Regions from separate parts of the Homo sapiens genome. Here region 2 is linked to region 1. The links are contacts of gene promoters, found by promoter capture Hi-C in blood cells and fetal thymus (Javierre and others, 2016). All regions are on one chromosome and are shown on one strand. The core of a region is centred on a gene start or on the middle of the fragment in contact, and the rest is flanking DNA. Distances in the headings are between cores, read along the strand shown. Region 1 holds the start of TNKS1BP1 (tankyrase 1 binding protein 1). Region 2 holds the start of INTS4 (integrator complex subunit 4).

Region 1 (3,419 bases), core at 559-3,058:
GCCTATTATTACTGTGATTCCATTCAGTGTCACCAATGAGCTAACATCCCTGATAACCACCTCCTCCTCTTCCCTGACCCCAGGCTACCAGCATTCCCAGACCATTCCTTCACTCTCCCAGGCCCTAGTCCTGTCACCTGTTCTTCAGATACTCCAACCACCTCCTCAGTTCCCATCCTGACTCCTGAAGCACTCTCCCACCCACAAAAACATGGAGACCCTGGGGGATAGGGCCCTGCACCTCTCATGCAAGGCGGAAGTTTCCCTCACCTGGTATGCAGAGCCCTGAGGACAACCCAAACTTCTCCAACCTGCAAGGGGCATTGCCTCACTTAAAGTCACCCACTCCAGCTGGTCTGGGAAGACAGCACCAAATCCTTAAAAGGGACCCCCAGTGCTCATCCTCTGCAAAATCCAACACCCCTCCCCTAACGCTGACCCTGCCCCAGGTGTTTCAAAGATGGGAGAGGGTATGAAGACAGTAGAGAAACCCAGTACTGTCAACCCATTGGTCAGTTAACCACCACGGAAGACTGCCCACTGTGGGTGGGTGAATAACTGTGCAGAGCCAGGCCAAGTGTGGTGGGGGGAGGGGCACATGATAGAAAAAATAAAATTAAAACACAAGATTGTTTCCTTGTCCTTGAACATTATTACTAGGAACATAGTGTGGGTGGTTGGAGATGGAAATTAATTGGCTCAGAACCAAAAAAATCCTTTCACCTGGGGTTCTGATGGGCCCCTCTGCGGTATGAGGGGCTGCAGCAATGAAGGCGGGCTCAGAGTCCCCAGGTGCGGAGGTGGCCACAGCAACTCAGAGACCCCAGCCAGGGGCCCCAGGTGACCAAGGCCACCAAGGCTGTGGCCAGAAGCTGCGATTCGCAGCGGTTCTGAGCACTCCCCACCCTCAAGAGACCAGGGGGTAGAGGGTAGCAGGGTAGAAACGAGCTGACCCCTGGCAGATAAGGCCTCCAGAAGGGCTGGGCAGCTCCAGCCCCGGAGGGGACTCGGCGCAGGCGGGGTCGCCCCTATGGACCCCAGGATCTCCAGCCGGATCCGAGGCTAGAGAGGTCGGCAGGGACAGCACGTAAACTGCTGGAAAGAGGGAGGGCCAACGGGAAGATGGAACAGCCCCGGGCAATGGGCTGTCTGGAGGGGCCCAGTGGGGAGCTCTGGACACAGAAGGGACGGCGGCAGCCGAAGAGGAGGAGGAGGAGGGGGCTGCGGTGGCGGCAGAAGCGGAGGACCTGTGAGCGGGCTGTGAAGCAGCCGGCGAACAGACGGTGGGCTGCAGACGTCGATCAGGTGGGGGCGGACTGGGGTGGCTGGGGGCGTGCCGAAGGAGCCGGGGGAGGGGGCTAGCGCGGCCCGGAGGAAGGGGAGGCAGGGGTCCCTCCAGCGGCTCTGCCCGCCCCCGGCCCCGCCCCAAGCCCTCGCCCCCTCCCCCCTTTCTTCTGGCTCTGCCAGCACGAGCTCCAAGCCATGCGCCCTCCGCCTCCGCGCACACGCGCCACCTTCCCCCGGGCCTCCAGCGTCCCCAGCGCCCTCGGCCCCTGCAAACTTTCCTGGTGACCCCCCGACCACCACCACCTCAACCCGAGGTGTCGGCTGGAAAGCACCCACTCCTTCCATGCCCCTCCCCCGCCCCATCCCGGACCCCGCCCCCTCCTTCGCCCGACCGCCCCCGCGCACTCACGCGCTCGCCCGGGGTCCGGCTCCGCTCGGCTCGGGGCCCCGATGCCAGTCCCCGCCGCCGCCGCCGCTGCTACCGCCGCCGCCGCCGCCGTCACCGCGGGACGAAGCCACTGCGAGCCCCGGCGGGGCCCCGCCCCAACTCCGCCCAGGTCCACGCCCCCAGGGCGCTTCATGAATATGCATGAGCCGGTTGGAACCCGGGAGTGGGAAGCCCGTGCAGAATTCGTCCCACCGTCGGCAAACAGGCGCGGCCCAGCACTCAATTATTCATGAGGCTTGCAGATGAGGGGCCCGCCCCAGTCTCAGACCGGGGCGAAACTGACGCAATTCAGCCGGGAGCGCTCGGGTAAAATGGCCACCGAGACGACTGCCTAGAGAAACTGCCTTGGCGGCCCCTCCCGGGCTCCGCCGCCTGCACAGAGCACAGTATCATCGAGCTACGCCGGCAAGAAGGTAGCCGCCGGCTGACTGAAGCGGCTTCCTGATACAACCACCTGAGTGCTGAGAACGCGCGCAACGTGGCCACCCTCCTGTGTCAATTCAGATTTAGAGCCACCGTGAAGAAGTCTGGCAGCTCTGCATTCCTCATTAGTGACCTTTATCTCCTTTTAGGCCCCTTCTCAGACATGGGTTCCTCCCTACACTGAAGTTTGTATACCCCCTTCTTCCCGTAAGAACAAAAGCTTCACATATAACTCCGTACTTTGTTGCACCACCACCAGGCTGCAACCACCACCACTCTACGCACACGCTCATCCTCCCCGACTCTCCAGGCTCAGGTTTCCACTCCCCCGGCTGCGGGAAGGACAGTCAATCCTGATTTCATTATCGAAAGCCTTGGAAGACCCTTGACTCATAGGTAAGGATGCAGCCAAGAGCTGCCTCCCCCTAGCTTGGTTGGCTAATGGAGTGTAACTGGGAGAAACTTCCTAATCAGATCAGCTCTCATTTCTAGACTCTCAGGTGGCCCATCCGGGCAGAGGCGGGTGAAAACCAATGCTCGTCCAGCCGGGAACAGAACAGGATGTACCTCGAGACTTGCTTCCCGGCTGGCCAGGAAGGCCCTGCCCAGTCTGACCAGAGCAGTAAACACCACCAATAAAAGTGGGAGCAACACACCAAGGCTACAAAGAAAGCATGAGGACATGGTTTCCAAAGTCAGTTCCCTTTATTAAATCATTTTCACAGACCAGAAATACAAAATGAAAGTAGAAATAGGCCCCAGGTAGGAGCTACAGGCCTGGCCTCACATGACCCCTGCTCCAGCAACTTGAACAGGACAAGCAGCAGCTACATCCTTAAGGTCGGGAAAGTAAGATGAGGATTTGGATCCTGCATTGCCCTGCCTCCCACCCTATCTCTCCCCAAATTATAAACAGCCATCCTTGGGAAGCAGCAGAGTTAAGACGTCTCCCCACTGCCCTAGTGACATACACACCAACAGGAGAGCATGTTCAGATGGCACAGAATCCAGGGACTGCATTTCATGAGGAGAAACTGGTACCAAAATATGGGTGGGGAGTCGGGGGGTGTGAGAAGGCAAGCGCAAAGAGAACCTTCCTCCGTTTCTACTCATCGGATCCTGACGCTGAGTCCTCTGAGCTGGGGGGAGTACTGGCTAGTTCTTCTTCTTCAGAGTCCTGAAAACCAAAGGTGTCTTAAGGGAAAAGCTGGAGTCCTGGGTGCCCCACCCACTCTTCAGTGAAGGGCCCGCAATTCCCTAC
Region 2 (3,419 bases), core at 477-2,976, about 21 Mb after region 1:
GAAAAATTAAGTGAAGAAATTAGCTCTTCCCTTAAAATTCTTAGCCATTTCTATCCTAGTCCTCTCAAACTCAGTTTTCAGTCTTATCGAAGCTGTAGTTAGGTCAAAAGCTAGGAATTTTTTCCCTAAGTATTATATAAGGGAGAGGACAAGCAATATCAACTGTCATTCAACCACCAATAACACTTTAGTGAGCCAGGCCCTATTGTCCATCTCCAGGACACGGAGATGAGCCAGGCATTAGCTCTGCCATCAAGGACCTCCGACTGGTGGGAAGATAGGTACACCGGTAATGACAGCAGCACTGAACAAAAAGTACAAATAGATTAGTACCACAGAATGCTACAGAAACAGGTGAAGAAGAGACTAAGCTCTCGCTGAGGTTTCATTTGGGTCTTGAAGCACAAATGTTAAGTCCACTGGGTGGAGAACAAAAAGAAAGGGAAGAATGGCATGTATTCTGTGAGAAGAGACAACCAGTGCAAGAGTTTTGAGATATGCAAACACAAGAACACATGGCATATCTGGTCATGTGAGGATGGGTGGAAGAGGGCTGAGCAGTCTTGGGAAATGGGAACAACAGAATGTTGGGAAGAGAGGAAATCACATTGTGCAACAGTGCTAATGTTCTTAATGCCACTGAACTTTATACTTAAAATTGTTAAAATTGTAAATTTTATATTATGTATTGACATATTTTGTATTTGTATTAACATATTTTAATGCTGGATGAATGAATCCATGTAATGTTTAAGGATCAGTATCCTGCTGGATGCTCTAAGCCTTGCCACTCTACAAGTCTAAGGATCTAAGAATGCAACCAATGCACTGGTGTAAATTTGGGGGCATGTCAGGAATGCAGAATCTTGCCTCACCTCCTCTGCTTGACTTATCAAATAGAATCGACATTTGAACAACGTCCCCAGGTAATTTGTATACACATTAATATCTGAGAAATAGGACATCAGGATGATTTAGGATCAACCCTAGCAACATCTACGTGGAGACACATGGAGCATCACTGACTCCCGACAGGGACTCTGCCCACCTGTCACAACTTCATGGTGAGGAAGGTACTGCCCTCCTTCCTAGGTGAGCTGTTCTACCAATAGAGAGCTCTTCCCCTATGAAGTCTGTGACCCCCGCCTGCTTAGACTGCGCCTGAAGGAATTCTATAGACCCTTCTTTCAGCCCCTTAGAACCTTGTGTATATTCCAACTGGTCCCTGGGAGGTTTTTTTTTGGAACGGGGGTGCGGGGAGGCTAGAAGGGGCTCTGCTGCTAACTGGCTGTATCCTCGTACCCCTCCGGAAGGCTCAATGTCCACATCTGGAAAACGAGGATGCTAATGTAACGCGATGGAGCAAAGTTGTGTGAGAGAATAAAATGAAATAACGGATAAGACAGTTTCGTAAATTAAAAAACACTGTTTCTCCTAATAATTTTTTTAAAATCCTGTCAGACTTCACATATTAATGACAACAGCGGCTGCAAACTAACACGCCCACTAACTTGCAATATCAGAGATTATCAACAAGTCAGCACTTAACACGGGCGTATGGAGCCTCTTCTGTTCCGGCAAAGTGCCTGGGATTTGGATAATCTACCCTGGTCCGGATCGGTTCTGGATCTTTCCCGCCAGAGCTTACCTGAACCACTTTCGTGAATTCCTCATAAACCCGCTTCTTAAGGTGCGCCGCCATGCCTACCCGCGGGCCCTCTCAGCTTCCGTACACTAGGAGGGAGGCGGGGGTGGACGGATCCGGAAAACTTGCGTAGGCGCGGGGGGTGGGTGGATGACTTGCCGAGATCCCACAAGGCAGTGGGATTTGGGGAAAGAGCGACCGCTTCCTGTTGCTCGACTGCCTCGCCACTGTACGGACTGATTTGGCGGCCTACGCCGGAAGAACGGAAATAAGAGCTTCGCTTGTGGGAGGCGGGGCCTCTGGCGGGAGGAGCTGAGACTGAAAGGGTGGGCAACCCAATGGGAGCTTTGGGAGGCTGGTTGGTGGCCTCGGAGTGGCTAAGAGACTAGCGCGGCGCGGCGCGAAGGGAGGGAGGGAGGAAGTACAGGTTAAAGGGCAGAGGCGGGGTGCTCCAGAGCTAGAGGCAAAACCCGGAGCTCTGTAAGGGGTTTACGACTCGTGAAAAAACTCAGAGGCTCGGCTGACTTTCCCATCATCCTTTGCTGTACACGATGCTGTTTGTAGGTTTCCTGAGCACTGCCTTTGTTCAAGCTGTGCGCCACCTCTCTTGTTTTGGGGTGCCTTTCCATACTTCCTTATTCCAGTTTTGCAAAAGCTGCCATCCTTTAAGGCATCAATCCCTGCTCTGATAGCTATAGTACAGTAGAAGACTTCTGAGACCAAGGATAAAGCAACAAAGCTACAGACTACAGCTCTGGTTCTTGAGCAAATGGCTCAACTACAAATGCATTTATAATAACTAACCTGACAAAGATGTGACAATGGAGTGAAATAATGCAGGAACATTTTACGGACTGTAAGGTGTAGTGCACATGTTAGTGTCAGTAAATCCAAGGTCAAGTTTTACAACCTACATGAAACTAGCTGTTCATTATTTTGGTCTTTCAAAAGAATGTGGGCCAGGCGCGGTGGCTCATGCCTGTAATCCCAATACTTTGGCAGGCCGAGGCGGATGGATCACTTGAGGTCAGGAGTTCGAGACCAGCCTGGCCAACATGGGGAAACCCCGTCTCTACTAAAAATACAAAAATTAGTCGGGGCATGGTGGCACACGCCTGTAATCCCAGTTTCTTGGGAGGTTGAGGCAGAAGAATCACTTGAACATGGGAAGCGGAGGTTGCAGTGAGCCGAGATCGCGCCACTGCACTCCAGCCTGGGCGACTGAGCGAGACTCCGTTATCAAAAAAAAAAAAAAAGAATTAATGTGGGATAGTTTAAAAAAAAAAAAGCAGGAGGCTGAGGTGGATACAGAGGACCCAAAAATAAACAAAAGATAGTATTTATCCTCAAGGTCCTACAATCTGAGAAGACAGACACCCAAACTGATGGTGACAGTGCAACTGAAATGTGCTGGGTAACGGGAATGAATGTGGTTCAAACAGACCTAATTTCTTCAGAGTGCCTCAGGGAAGGCTTTCCTAAAATTAGAGGAAACTGGGAGTGGTGGCTCACGCCTATAATCCCAGCACTTTGAGAGGCCGAGGCGGGCAGATCACCTAGTTCAGAAGTTTTGAGACCAGCCTGGGCAACATGGCGAAATCTACTTTAAAAATACAAAATTTAGCTGGGCATGATGGTGGCCCACGCCTGAAGTCCCAGCTACTCTGGAGGCTGAGGCGGGAAAATCGCTTGGGCCTGGGATGTGGAGGTTGCAGTGAGCCGAGATCCAGCCACTGCACTCCAGCCTGGGCAACGGAGTGAGACCCTGTCTCCA

The links. Contacts are between HindIII fragments. The CHiCAGO score rates a contact against its expected background, and 5 or more counts as called.
Region 2: the fragment with the promoter of INTS4 here is called in contact with the fragment with the promoter of TNKS1BP1 in region 1 in 1 of 17 cell types (naive CD8 T cells); the score reaches 6.3 in naive CD8 T cells.

Annotation. Positions count from the first base shown.
Region 1 is chr11:57,323,144-57,326,562 of GRCh38, forward strand. It overlaps TNKS1BP1 (tankyrase 1 binding protein 1), which reads right to left and starts at 1,809. Exons shown (of 12, transcript NM_033396.3): 1 at 1,697-1,809. SSRP1 (structure specific recognition protein 1) reads right to left here. Exons shown (of 17, transcript NM_003146.3): 17 at 2,845-3,335. The coding sequence ends at 3,264. RefSeq lists a silencer at 1,613-1,892 and enhancers at 2,023-2,072, 2,102-2,975. The HindIII fragment of the contact is 11,807 bases long and covers 1-2,376 here.
Region 2 is chr11:77,992,942-77,996,360 of GRCh38, forward strand. INTS4 (integrator complex subunit 4) reads right to left here and starts at 1,727. Exons shown (of 23, transcript NM_033547.4): 1 at 1,649-1,727. The coding sequence starts at 1,702. RefSeq lists an enhancer at 1,642-1,841 and a silencer at 2,042-2,111. The HindIII fragment of the contact is 5,814 bases long and covers 1-3,419 here.